Regions from separate parts of the Homo sapiens genome. Here all the other regions are linked to region 3. Evidence: promoter capture Hi-C in 16 types of primary human blood cells and fetal thymus (Javierre and others, 2016). All regions are on one chromosome and are shown on one strand. Each heading gives the region's core, a stretch centred on a gene start or on the middle of the fragment in contact. The rest is flanking DNA. Distances are from core to core; before and after follow the strand shown.

Evidence for each region. Contacts are between HindIII fragments. The CHiCAGO score rates a contact against its expected background, and 5 or more counts as called.
Region 1: a fragment that was not itself captured here is called in contact with the fragment with the promoter of CD1B in region 3 in 1 of 17 cell types (fetal thymus); the score reaches 5.6 in fetal thymus.
Region 2: a contact is called between a fragment that was not itself captured here and the fragment with the promoter of CD1B in region 3, in 1 of 17 cell types (fetal thymus). The highest score is 10.3, in fetal thymus.

Annotation. Positions count from the first base shown.
Region 1 is chr1:157,996,654-158,001,292 of GRCh38, forward strand. The region is part of intron 1 of KIRREL1 (kirre like nephrin family adhesion molecule 1); the gene reads left to right. Among named protein-coding and RNA genes, the nearest start is that of KIRREL1, 5.3 kb to the left of the region's middle. The HindIII fragment of the contact is 3,235 bases long and covers 567-3,801 here.
Region 2 is chr1:158,644,986-158,649,427 of GRCh38, forward strand. SPTA1 (spectrin alpha, erythrocytic 1) reads right to left here. Exons shown (of 52, transcript NM_003126.4): 26 at 3,524-3,668; 27 at 2,554-2,735; 28 at 510-609; 29 at 203-400. Among named protein-coding and RNA genes, the nearest start is that of SPTA1, 40 kb to the right of the region's middle. The HindIII fragment of the contact is 1,162 bases long and covers 2,340-3,501 here.
Region 3 is chr1:158,330,041-158,334,677 of GRCh38, forward strand. It overlaps CD1B (CD1b molecule), which reads right to left and starts at 1,491. Exons shown (of 6, transcript NM_001764.3): 1 at 1,323-1,491; 2 at 756-1,022; 3 at 1-90. The coding sequence starts at 1,383. The HindIII fragment of the contact is 309 bases long and covers 1,444-1,752 here.

The sequences.
Region 1 (4,639 bases), core at 934-3,433, 330 kb before region 3:
TCTCCCCTTTCGGTGCTACACATAGACACATATACACACTTTAGATGTCCCACTTCTGCCCAGAGCAGGGCGCTGAGGTTGGGGAAGAGTCAGGGGAGACATGGCAGAAACCAGGACACTGGGTTCCTCTCTTTGACCTTGACTGAACTCCACTTTCTGCCTTCTACTCACTTAGACCCAAAGGGAGGGTGTGAACCAAGTACTCAGTGCCTCAGCCCTGGGCCCCAGAGCACCTGGTCAGGAGGAGGAGGAGGAGGCATCCAGGCCTTCTCGCCTCTGCTCCTTCCCACAGCTGAGTGGTTGGTTGTTCTGGCTCTGCCTTTGGCGCTCCAGTGAGATGGGAGGAGGAAGCCCCACCTCTGCCCCCCTAGGACCTCTTTACACCCTTACAAGGACTAAGTCTTAATTTCTTTTATCCTATAGTTTCTGGTGGTAAGTGCCCCTTAAATATCTGATCAATTGATTGATTTGATGAGCGCGCTGCAGTGCTGGAAAGAGGCAGCATTCGATGGCGATTAAATCACAGACTCGCATCCAGCTCCCACCTCCACCATTTGGTAGTCGTAAGCTTGAACAAGTCATGTACATTCCCTGTGCCTCAGCATGCTCTTCCAGAAGTGAGGATGGAAGTAATACCTCATAGGGTTGTGGTGGCACTTGAATATGTTAATCCATGTAACGTACATGGAACAGTGTCTGGCACAGCGAGAAGTGCTCAGTAAATGCTTGCTATCTTGGCTTTGAGGTGAGACATAGATAGACAGGCAGTCAAGTTGTCTGCGCTTCCTTTTCTTCTCCCTATGATTCTTTGTGGGGTGTGTGTGTGTGTGTGTGTGTTTTCTAGCTCCAGCTCCCCAGATTCTTGGTCCTGGGCTTCAGTAAGTGCCTTCTTTGTATCTCTCATGGAAAGAACTATGTTGTGGCAGACCCAGAAGGGGAAACTGACCCCCTCCTTGGAGACCTCAGAAAAGATCTGGGGAAGGGATTTGAGGAGAGAGAGCAAAAGTGGAAGAGGTTGGCACTTGAGTGAGAAGGAACCAGAGCTCTTGTGTGAAATGAGGAGGGACACTAGCCCCGAGGTGGCAGCATTTCAGAGTCTGGAAATAATATGGATCATTTATTGAGCCCTGTGTAACTACTTCATATGCATTATCTAATTTAATCTATGCTACAGCCCCCTGAGATTGGCTGTGTAAATTATCCCCATTTCATGGATGAGAAACTGAGATTTATTTATTTATTTTTTTAGATAGGGTCTTGCTCTGCTGCCCAGGCTAGGGTGCAGTGGTGTGATTATGGCTCACTGCAACCTCCTCCTAGGCTCAAGCCATTCTCCTACCTCAGCCTCCTAAGTAGCTAGGACCACACACACCTGGCTAATTTTCTTTTTTTTCTTTTGGAGAGATGGGTCTTGCTAGGTTGCACAAGCTAGTCTCAAACTCCAAGGCTCAACCGCTTCTTACATCTCGGCTTCCCAAAGTGCCGGGATTATAGGTGTGAGCCACTGTACCTGGCCAAGAAACTGAGGTTTAGATACATTAAGTATCTTATTGGTAGTTGTAGGAACCAGTGGATCCCACAGCCTGCACCCTTCTCCTTTGCCAGATCCTACATGCCAGCAGAGACTGATGCTGGACTGGGACAGGGATTTTCCTGGTCCATAGCAGAATGAGAACTAGGAAGAAAAGGGAGTGAGTATTTCATAAAGGTAAACTCATTCAAATTTAAAAAACAATCCTTTATTCTGAGATTCTGTCCTACATTTTTTGGTGTTAAATTGTTTTTCTTTGATGATATGATAAATCTAGTAAATGACTTTTTTCAAGGACTTGGCAAATAAAAAGGTTTGTTTCTAATATTAAACACAGCCTTGTTACAGGTCCATGAACTACAAATTTGGGAATTATTCTTGTTCCATGCAAGGCTGACTCCTGGAGAGGCCCAGAGCCATACAGAGGCAAAAGAAGCACTGAGAAGGGGTCTAGGGGATAATCCTGAGACCAGGATCTCCCCAAGTGTCAGCTTCCAAATTTGTCTGGTCCCTGGTAGTCTGGTAGGATTGGAGGCTAGGGTCTTAGATGGCTTGTTCTAACCCGCCTGGGGAGGCTTTCAACCCTCCTTCTTAGCCTGTGCCCTGGGGAACTGCCTGGCCTTGGGTGGTGAAAAGTGATTGTAGGAGGTGAACTCCATACCAAAGCATCAAAATTACCTTTTATTGAATTCCTACAGTGTGCTTTTCAGGTTAATGTTACTCCCATTTTATAGATGAAGAAACCACAGTTGAGAGTTTAAGTAACTTGCTGAAGGGCATACCTGAGGTGTTAGACCCCAGATTCAACCCCTCTTTTGTCTCCCTCCTAAGCGCCATGAGTGCCCTTCAGCCTGCCTAGAAGAGCCACACCCTGCCTTTCTTAGAGTTAAGGCAGCTGTGGAAGGACAGGAGGGAAGCCTAGGCCTTTTTTCCTCTCCTGGTGCCTCACTCAGCTCAGCCCCCTTCCCTAGTTCTCAGCCCAGAAATTCCAAGGACACATCTATCTCCCTGCCTTGCTTTGATGATCATTTGTGAAGCAAAACTTAGATGTCAGGATACATGTTTTAATCAGTGGGGCTGGGACCAGTAAATAATGCCCCTTGTCAGAAGGAGGTTTGGAAAGCCTCAATCCTTTTCCTCCCACGTTTAGAGTCTTTTATCTTTGTACCTGTATGGTGCTTGGCAATTTTAGCAACTTTTCACATGTACCATTTGATAGAGAGATACACTCATCCTATGGTGTAGGCAGGAGAGTTGTTTCTCCATTTAATAGATGAGAAAACAGAGACCTAGAGAAGTTAAATAAATTGCAAAGGGGTGGCAGTTGGTATGGAGGGAAGGGATGGGGACAAATTCCTTAATCTCCCCAATTTCTGGGAGATGTTTCCATCTGAGGCTAGAGACATTTCTCTTCATATGTCCAGAGATGAGAAAGTTATGCCCCTTCCCGACCTACCAGTTCCTGTCTGGTTTCTTCCCAGGGCCTCTGGACCAGTTTACTTGGCAATCTCCTGGAGGGTTCTTTGACCTGGAAAAGGATGGGGGTGTGGGGGTGGGTTGTCAGCAGTAGAGGAGAAAGAGGCTGTCATGTCCTTGATCCTCAAATGTGAAACCAGGGAGGAGGAAGAGGCAATTTCAGAAATCAGGAAAAATAATGGGCTCTCTCAGAGTGGGGGAGAAATCCGTTCACTTTTGTGAAGGGCAATTTTGTATTTTACATGCATTAGTAACTAATTCAATACTGACATAATTGTTGAAGTTAGGTGTTATCCCCATTTTACAGATGGACAAACAGGGATCCAAAGAAGTTAAGCAGATTGTCCAAGATGATCCAGCTAGTAAGTGACAGAGCCAGAACTAGAACCCAAGCAGGAAAGATGGGGTGGGGGCTGAGGATAATTCCTAGAAGGAAGACTGCACACCTACCTGTTCTGCATTACTGCTGCATGCAAGCGTGTGGATGCAATCTCACTGCATGCATATGCATATGCATATGTATTCACACATGCCTTCATAGTGCAGCTATACATGCACCCACTTCTTATCCCCATCCCCATACACATCTGGACAGATATCTCTCATCTTTACCCAAGCCTTTTCAGTCACCAGAGCACTAGTGTGCAACAGTAGTACATTTTTGTGAGTCATTTTTCTTCCAGCCATAGCAGCCCTCCTGTGTCTTTAAAGGCACTACTTTTTGCCTTGCCTTGCATGCCCTGCATCCTCTCTGATAGATGCACAAACTGTGAAGTTATGAAAGTTGAGAAAGAAGCTTGGGGTTCCTCATTCTGTAACACTGGTCCCTCTCCATTCTGTAGCTCCAGCTCTTATACCTTCCTACGTCTGATTGTCAGACAATGCGAACCTAATTAAGTTCTTGGAGCATCCAGGATAAAAGCTGCTGTAGCTCGCAGACATCACTGAAGTATGACACTTTTGTTTTTTCTTTCTATCCCACTTACTCTCCCTCTATCAGCTGACTCCAAGCTCCCAGCTTGTCCTTCCCTCCATATTTAATTTATTCAGCCACTTTTATTAACCTCTGTTGTCTCCAGGGGCTGCAGTCCTCATCCCTCTCTGCCCTCCTTGAGCCCATTTAACAAAATAGGCATCGTATTGAAATAAATGAGCCTTGCAGCCAGTCAACCTCCTCAGGATTAAGGGTCTTAAATCCAGGGGTAGAAATCTCCAGAACTCTCTAGCAAATTCCATTAGTTTCCCAGGAGAGAATGCTGCCGCTTCATTCCTTTTGCAATCTGGCTCTGGAAGGTGATGGGAGACTCACCCAGAATGCTGTGGGTCTTGGGTTTTGAGGCAGGGAAGGGATAACAGGAACCCGAGTGTCTGGAGGTGTACTCTGTGCCCAGCAGGTTTATCCCAGGAAGCTGTCCCATCCTAGGTCCGCTTCAGAATCGACTAGGCCATTGGATGCCTTTTCTTTTTGCCCCTTCTTTCCTTCTGAGGCAGTCTGAGGAATATATCTTCACTGAAAGATGTGTGGAAAGAGGAAGGACTTTTGTTCCTTCATTCAGCGGAAGAGAATTGTGTGCTTACTGTGTGCTGGGCTCCAGTGTTGCAAAGTGAATAATGTACTAGATCTCTGCCCTT
Region 2 (4,442 bases), core at 1,671-4,170, 320 kb after region 3:
TGGCTCTTCTAACAAGAAAGAGCAGAGAATATGACAATGATCGGTATAGAAAGCATAGTACAATGCTAGGTAATTAAGAGATGAGCTCCCTTTGTGTTTATAACGTGGAAAGTCTAGTGAACGGAGCCTGTAATGACCATATGAAATTGCATAGGAGAAACAGACTACTGAACCTGCTTAACAATTGGGAAATTTGCTGTACCTGCAACTCCAGGCACTGGTCTAGGATCTTCTTGCGTTTTTCCCAAGCCTTCTCCAAATCATCTCTCTCTAGCTTGACAGCTTGAAGCTTTTTTTCAATTTCAGGGCTAGCATGGTGCCCACTGTCGATAAGTTCTGCACTGAAGTCCTCTAAGGCCTGGAAGGTGGGAGCCTCTGCCTCCATGTCAGCACGGTGCTCCTGTGGGAAAAAGGGGGAAGAAATCAGTGAGGCCAACTCCATTGGAAATTTTAAAATTAGTAGAGGTTTCAGGTCAAGTGATCAGTGGCTGTGACTTTTGTAGTTTTACCTGATGTCTCTCCAGCAAGATCTCTATGCCAGTTAAGTCTTCGGCCAGCTCCTGTGATGATACCATGCCACCAATGCTACTGATCCAGTTCTGCAGATCCCTAGATAAACAGACACATTGGAATTGACAAGAAAACCTTGCAACTTGCTACAGTGCTGTTTGTCCTACAGTTTTCCATTCTCTAGAAAACATTTCCAGAATAACATTTTTTATCTGGCTTTATATGCTTTACAGATCTTACGTTTGCTGTTTTTATTATATCACCTAATGATAACAATCCCTTGTATTTGAAAGCCTCTTCACTTTTATTATCTTTTTCAATTCTTGCAGTAATCCTGCAGAGATTCCGGGAATTTTTTGTTTTCATTATGGAGATAAAGAAGTCACCTTAGAAAAGGTAATTAATCTGCCTATGTGGTATAACTAAAAGCAGACATCTTCAATAAAACCTAGACCTCTGGAATCCTGGACTGTTATATATTTCATTACTTCTGTTGGTTACTGTTCCTTTTAAGTGGTTTCTAGGGTTTGAAGATACATCTTATTACAGAGTCTCAAAGAAATCATGTCTTTCCTCTTACTTTTATTCTCAAGTGAATCTAGCACATATTTTGGCCAACATACACATACACACACAGGCCTCCACACTGTTGATTAAATCAAGGTCTATTTCCCTACCCTTTTAGTAGTCAGGAAGTTAGACGAGCAAAACTAAGGTCTATCTTCTTAAAAGGCAAATTTTAACTATGCATTAACTTTAAAGCATATATGGTGTATAAATTAAGCATCTCATAAAGAATGTCATTACTCTTGTTTGCTCAACAGGAACCCTTAGCTCTAGGAAAGAGAGGTCTCTTCTTTTGTAAATTTATTTATTCAAGCAACTAAGTTTTATTGGGTGCTTACTAAGTACCAAACATTGTGAAAAAGGCATATCTGTGCCTTCTAGGAACTCATACTTTAGGTTAAGAATGGATAAAAACAAAACAAAACAAAACAAAAAACAAACAAAAAACAGAGCATAGGCACTAATAGCAATTAAAAAACAAAACTGAAAGCAAAAGTATCATATGGAGTAAAATAAGATGTTAATGTTGCTCAGGGGTGGGAACACTACTCTGAAATACTGAGGAGTACAGCTTCATAAAGGGAAGGAAGCACCATTGGAATGGGTGTGGGTGCTATTTATTTAAACTGTGTCAAAAACTATAGCTTTCCAGTGCTGAACTGGGGAGGGGATTTCCAAGAGGAACTACAGTCATTTGCCAAAATTTGCCTCCTTTTTTCTTGAAAAGCATTGCATTGAGAGCTACAACTTCCTGGACCCTCTACTCTAATGCTCCTCTCAGCTGACTGATGCGATAGAGCCAAACGTGGGAACTGTTCCACAAAGTATATGTTTGAGAGGTGAATTTTGGATTGTGATAATGTCTAGACTTTAGTAAGATATTCACAGTTCTCTGGAATTTGGTCCCAATATTATTTTTAAGTTTATCTCTTACTACTTCTCCTTACCACCCCCTCCCCAAACATGTTCTTATGCTTATTCTTTTCTCATGATTATGTCTTTTTTTGCACAGTTCAGTCTACATGAATTGTTTTCTCTTCTGTTAAAAGTTTGACTGATAAGGTGTAATAAAATGTTACTTTATCTACAGTGCATCATCTATTCTACCCAACTCTGAATTCCCACTGCTGTTTGTTACAATGTGTGTTTTCGGCCTCATTATGTTCTACCATAGTTATTTGTATTCAACAGAATACTGAATACAGTAGAAGACTGAATACTACTGTCTCTTCAGTAGAACAAAAAAGCTTCTACATTATAGAAGCTTACTTAATTGGCCTACATGGCTTCATATTCTTTCAAACTTTGTATTTTATTGCTTCTAGTTTCAAACCTGAAATTTTTTATGCCTTGCAAGAGGTGAGACTTAAACGTAGTGATGCCCTCCAAAACCAGCAGTGAACAGCATCTGTACCCAGACTGCTCCCAGACAGTCTACTTAGAGGCCAGACACGGAAGTTACCCACCCCACTCTACCTGGCCTTGCTGAGGAACAGGTAGAATTTCTGGGCCTCATTTAGGCTCTCCTTACGATCCTTTGTACGCCCCTGCAGGTCTTCCCAGGCCTCATTCAGCTCCATTTTCTGTCTCTGCAGGTCCTCAGTGGCATCTGGATGGGACTCACTGAGCCGCTCTGCTGTCTCCCCCAGTATGGTCACCTGGGGAGGTACAATAGCTCTGATAATCAGCCTAGAGACACACCTGAATCTTAGCAAAAGGAGAATCCTGAGTCCCAGTATTCAGCTCCTCAAATAGATATCAGTGATGTACAAGTATGTCATCATACTTTACAAAATAATATCAACCTTTTAGTCCACATAACTCCCTAAGGTAGTTACAATTGGCATTACCATACTTCTTTTTAAAAATAAGAGAGTTGTGGGGAAGAGTGGTTAAGTGACTCTGCTGGTTAGTGGCAACCTCAATTAGGAAACCCAAGGGTCTTGATTCTTCATGTGAGGAGCTTCTTTTTGCTCTGCATGATAATGCCAAGCCTCTGAGTATATCTGACAAGCTCCAGAGTACACTTTTGGGTTGAAACAGAGTTAAACAACTCATTCAATTCCTTGCTAAGAAAAACATGCACCATACTCAGATATTGGCCTGATCATCCTGGGTATGGACATTTGCTATTTCTTCTGGGCTACTGGCCTCCACCTAGCTGCCACAAGATCTGGTCACTTGTAACCCACCAAAGAGGCAAGGGGATATAGGGTGCTCACTCAGACAGCAGGAGTTTAACAAGTTTTTTCCCCATGTTAATGGTCATGGGGCATATCCTTTTCATGGTCTTGCCTTAGGGACAGTGTACAAGAATAAATATGGCACAGAACAGAGAGAAATATAAGAATAAAAGACTGAAAAAGAGAACCAAAGAAGAGGGCATTGGTATACGGCTAAATATAGACTGGAAAGTGTTGGAAAAGCTTTGAAGGACTTGTCTCACCTTATCTCCCAGGGGTACGAGGTCCCTTTCAAAGCCCTCATGCCGTCGCTGAAGAGCCTGAACACTGAACAGATCTGAGCCAGGGTCTGCAGCACTGAGGGCCTGGCATTTCTTCTCAATCTGCTCCTTCGTGTCATCTGCTTCTCTGGTATACAAGAGAGTAGAGAGTTCAAAAGTAAGGATATGTACCAGAGGCAGGCTAGTGGGGGTCACAAGAAAGTTATCATCACTACCACTCACCATCCTCCCACCCACCCCCCCACCCCAACCAATTATCATCATTGTTTTTTATGTGCTAGAAACTTAGGCTCATTTAATCTTCACAACTCCAAGAAGCATAGTTACTATTACTATTCCCATTAAATAGATCAGAAAACTGAGGACTAAAGAGGGTAAGTATTTTCTCAAGATTATACCACTGCTGAATGGTGGAGCCTAAGCTTGAACCAGGCCATCTGACAGCAGTCACATGCTTAACCATCATATTTCCATAGCTTTCTATCTTAAGCATTCTACACACACAGACCTGTCTGAGTCTGTTTTTCCTTCCCTGCATCATCAAAAATACATTTATACACAATGAAGGTGTTTAGTTTCTGTTTTGTTTGTTTACTTTTTTGTATGTGTCTTTGTGTTTCTTAGTTTGAAAATCAAACAAGAAAAATGTTGAATGAGCTGATAGTCAATGTGATGTCTGTTGCCCTCTACTGTCAGCTTCTAGTTGAGAAATGTAATTACTTAAACCTCCTGTTTCAACTTCAAGTTTCTTTCTTTCTGTTTTGATTTTGAAGATAAGGGTCTCACTCTGTTGCAATAGGCTGGAGTGCAATGGCTTGATCAAGGCTCACTGTAGCCTCAGCCTCCTGGCTCAAGTGATCCTCCCAGCTCAACCTCCCAAGTAGTTGGGACCATAGGCCTG
Region 3 (4,637 bases), core at 241-2,740:
CCAATCCTCCTAGAGCTCCCCTCAGGAAGCTTACTATGGCACCTCCAGAATGTAGCTCACAGCCTGCTATGCCCTGGATCTCAAAGGGGTCTATGTAGAGGGAAAAGAGAGCAAGTTATTAAACACAAATAAGAAAAAAAGGCATGAGAAAAGAACCTAGGATTTTAGATTTTGGTGGGGATAAAGTTATTTGGTGTAAAATGATGATGAGCTAAAAACTAATGATAACATTTAGACATTTTCAGAAACAAGAGCATTGAGAAAAATGTGCATGCCATGAAGACAAAGGTATGTGATAAAGGAGTACAGTGAGTATGAAAGGAGAGGTGAGGCAGAGCGTGGTGCAGTCAGGAGTGCAGCATTCCAGAGTGAGTGGAGGTTCCCAGCAAGAGGAGGGTGCGGGGAGGAGATGATTGAAAAGATGGATTAGGGGAGAAAGCCACACGTTAGATCACTCAGGCACAGGGTAGGAGAAGTAAGGGCCCTTGAGGAGAAGTTTCACATAAGACAAACCAGCAGCTGGTTACAAAGTGGAAGACAGTCTGAGAGTAAGAGAAGAGTGCAGAGGCAGCAAGAATCTGAAATATGAGGTGTGATGGTGTGAAGCTGGAGTGAGAGACTACTCAAGAAAAGCATGTGCGTGCATTTGGGTAAAATAGAAAGGAAGGGAGAAGCATCAGAGAGAGCAACACTTTGCAAAAAAGAGAGAAAAGAGAGTCCTTGAGACTCTTCCCAGTTCGGTGGACTAGACTCACATTTCATCTGGAAATCACCGGCAAAGTCTTGTACTTCTCGAGCGAATCCAAAGATGTAGACTCGGAATATCTCCTCTAACTCAGCAACCTCCTTATCACTAAAGTTACCTTTAGACCAAGGCTTCAGGAATATGGCAGTGCCTGAGTCGCTATCCCAGCCATGAATCTGCAAATCATCCAACCAGCCTGAGCCTTGAGTTTGTGCCCAGGTACTATTGGTAAAGGACGAGGTCTGGATAACATGAAAGGAGGTCGGCCCCTGGAAGGCTGTGAAGAGTGGAAAAGCAAGATGGTGAAGATAAAGAGAGAAGCAGGAGACAATTAGGAAGAATGGGAATGAAAATGATTTAGAAAACAAGAACCTAGAGTCTAAAGAACACAGGAAGTCTGACACATTTGACTGCCTTAAGGCTTCAGGTTCTAGTCCCAACCACCAGAATGGTTGAAGAGGGCGGGAGACAGAAAGACCCAGACCCTTAGTGTCCAATTGCACCTAGGAAAGCCCTGCTTGCTTTTTAAAATCCAAACCCCTGCACCAGTGCTGGGAGCTGCCAGAGTGACTCTTACCATGTTCACTGTTACCACCAGGAAAGAGAACAGCTAACAGTTGAAATGGCAGCAGCAGCATTTCACTGGGAGATGCAACTTCTTACTGGCAGAGCTGGTATTTGATCTCCAATTTCAGCAAAGCTTTTCCTCAGTACCCTGTAGTGACTTCTTCTCTCTTCCAACTGCCAAATCTCTTCCTCATCCAAACTGCTTTTCAGAGAAAAATGTGCCTCCCACAGCCCTGAGCCTCTTACCTCACCTTTTATTTCCCTCAAGCCCTGATTTTTAGAGTTTCTCTTACCCCCTGACTTCCAGCCGCTCTCCCTGTCCTCACCTTCCTTCATACCTCCTTGGAAAAGCCCCCATATGATTCTGCATTTTCATTTCTCCTTCCTTAGCCTTTATTCCCACATCTATAGGATAAGATGGTGATATTAAGCAATTGCTAAGCTTTTAGTCTGCTTTAACCCAGAAGGATGCTTTTAGTTTATCCACCTCACTTAGTTTCTCCCCCTCCCAGCTGCCTTATCTTCTCTGGCACTCTGTTACTGCCTCTTCCCAATGTTTTCAATGTCTTCTCTTTCTTATATTGCCCTCTTTGTCTGGTGTTCCTTACCCCACATTCTAAACTGGCTGTGAGTGTGTGTGTGTGTGTGTCTGTGTCTGTGTGTGTATGTGTATGTGTGTGTACCGATATTCACTTACATAAAGGCAAAGCATTTAAAACATTTCCTGTACTATAGCACTACAAACCAAAATGCCAGAATCAAATATAATAAAGACTGAAGTTTATAATTCAAACAAAATTATACTATAGCAATATTTGAGGGAAAAAATGACAATTGCTGCTAGCATGTGACCTTCTCTTCAGGAGCTCTTGGCCTATGGAGTTTTGAGTAACAAATATTCATGACATAAACAGAACTCTAGGAGCTATGCTATGTGCACCTCCAGCCTAAGTCAAAGATAACTTTTTGGGTAAGTTGCCATAAGCGGCAGAGCTTTTTTCTTCTCTTGTAATATCTCATAACTGCTGTCTACATTTGGGCATTCATATCACCACATGTGGTATTAATAATAGAGCAAAGAGGTTGCTTTTTTTTATACAAAAAGTTCAGAGATACTTGTTTTAAGATGTCACCTCCTATCTTCTTGTATGCCCATGAAAAATTTTAAGAAGAATTTTTGGATTTTCTCCATTTAGGAAAAAAATCACATATTTGCAGAGATCTATGTATCATGCAGAAATGTGGCAGCAATCGATTCCGAGTAAAGAGGGTTATCACTAACTAATTCTATTATGTGGATAAGAAAATGCAAAGTGAGTAGTGTAGTGTTCTCTATTCCTGGGGACACTACTGGTTCACAACATTAATAAGACTGGTTCACAACATTAATAAGACTAGCCTTCATCCAAGATTATTACTGCCTAATTGATAAATACAGAGCAGCTCTCCAAATTTCAATGTATGTATCTCTTAACAACATTCCCAGACTCCAATACATGACAGAATTGAATCTACTTTTTGGATAACAGCCATAGACAACAGCAGAGACTTAACATTGGCTGTCACAGACATGAACATTACTATTTTTGTGTTTATACGTTTTTTATTTTGGGTAGAACACCCAAAACAGAGCTCAGGAAAAGCTGGTAGACAACCTGGGCTATTTTCCATTAAAATAAGTGAGTTCTTGCAAGACTCCCAAAGTTGAATTGCTACAAACTAAATCTGAAATGTTCCTCATTTTAAAAAATAATCCAAAAGAGTTGGCAGGGCACAGGAGACTATCACAACACTAGCCCCACACTCATCAAACTTTTTTTTTTCTTGAGACAGAGTCTTGCTCTGTTGCCCAGGCTGGAGTGCAGTGGCATGATCTCGGCTCACTGCAGCCTCTGCCTCTTGGGTTCAAGTGATTCTCCTGCCTCAGCCTCCTAAGTAGCTGGAACTGTAGGCATGTGCCACTATGCCCAGCTAATGTTTGTATTTTTAGTAGAGACTGTGTTTCACCATGTTGGCCAGGATGGTCTTGATCTCCTGACCTTGTGATCTGCCCACCTCAGCCTCCCAAAGTGCCAGGATTACAGGCATGATCCACCACGCCCGGCCACTCATCAAATTTTTAAACAAGTTAGGCCTAAAACATGAGAACAGTAATCCAGTCAAAATTATGTTACCAGAAAGGAATATTAGTATTGCCAAAGACTGAGTTAGAAATTGAGTTGTGCCTGAGAGATGGAAGATAGAGGAAGAGGTCTTGGTTTCAGTTTCAACAGCGTGTAAGTTTTTGCCAAATATGTGCAGAATGTCTACCTAAATAACAAACAGAAAAAGAGGCTCTCTAAAAGAAAAAGATATTTATTTGAGAATAGAGCATTGCAATGGGAATATATATGCAATAGTAAACGATGTGCATACTCAGGGAGGTAAAGGAAGGCAAATTTTTTAAAGAAAAAAAATTAAGAGAATTACATATTTGTTTTGAAATAATTATCCTTGCCTACAAATATCAATAACAACGGTGACACCAGTCAGAGGTTAAACAGACAGTTGCTGGCAGGGCAGATGTCTTTGAGGCATTTTTCATGTAAGGTTGTGATGGCCTTTTCAAGGTTGTGGTTTTTGCAGAGTCTTTCGTGGTAGTTGTTCTTATTAGGTATACAAGTGTGAGAACCCTCTCTGCATAGTCTTCCCTAGCTCTGCCAGTTTTTTTTTTTTTTCCTTAGTGACTCCGTTTTGTTTCTGGCAACATTTGCAAGAAGATGACTGTAAATTTAAATTTAGTTAGGAAAATCGCCAGACAAAATGAAAATTTTGTAATTCTTCAAATGTCATATTTGAGGGAAAAATTTACTTTATACACTGTCTTTTCCCTGAAAAGTGGAGCAATTGAGATAGTTTGAAAGGTCTAGAAATTAACCAGGTTTTCAAGTTACATTCTTTCTCACATATCATATCCAGTATTTCATATTTCCTTTCTGTTTCAAAAGTACAGAAATGGACATGGCAGTGTCCACAGTGTCCACATAGCAATGTCACACATTTCCATACTACACTGTGACTATGCTTGTCCAGCTCTATGGCATGGTTTGTATTTCCACTCTGCATTAGTACCATTGTTGCTTGACATATGAAACCTGTCTTCTAGGGAAAGATTATCCCTAGTCCCAATATTTGTTTCAAATTAAAAAATCAACATGTGCACACTTCTAAATCGAAGCTTTAATTGATGCTTCTAACTCATACTCTCCTATGGGCCTAAAGACCATGTACACTTCTGATAAGCTCATCAAGACACAGGTTTTCTCAGATATTGATTGCATAATCT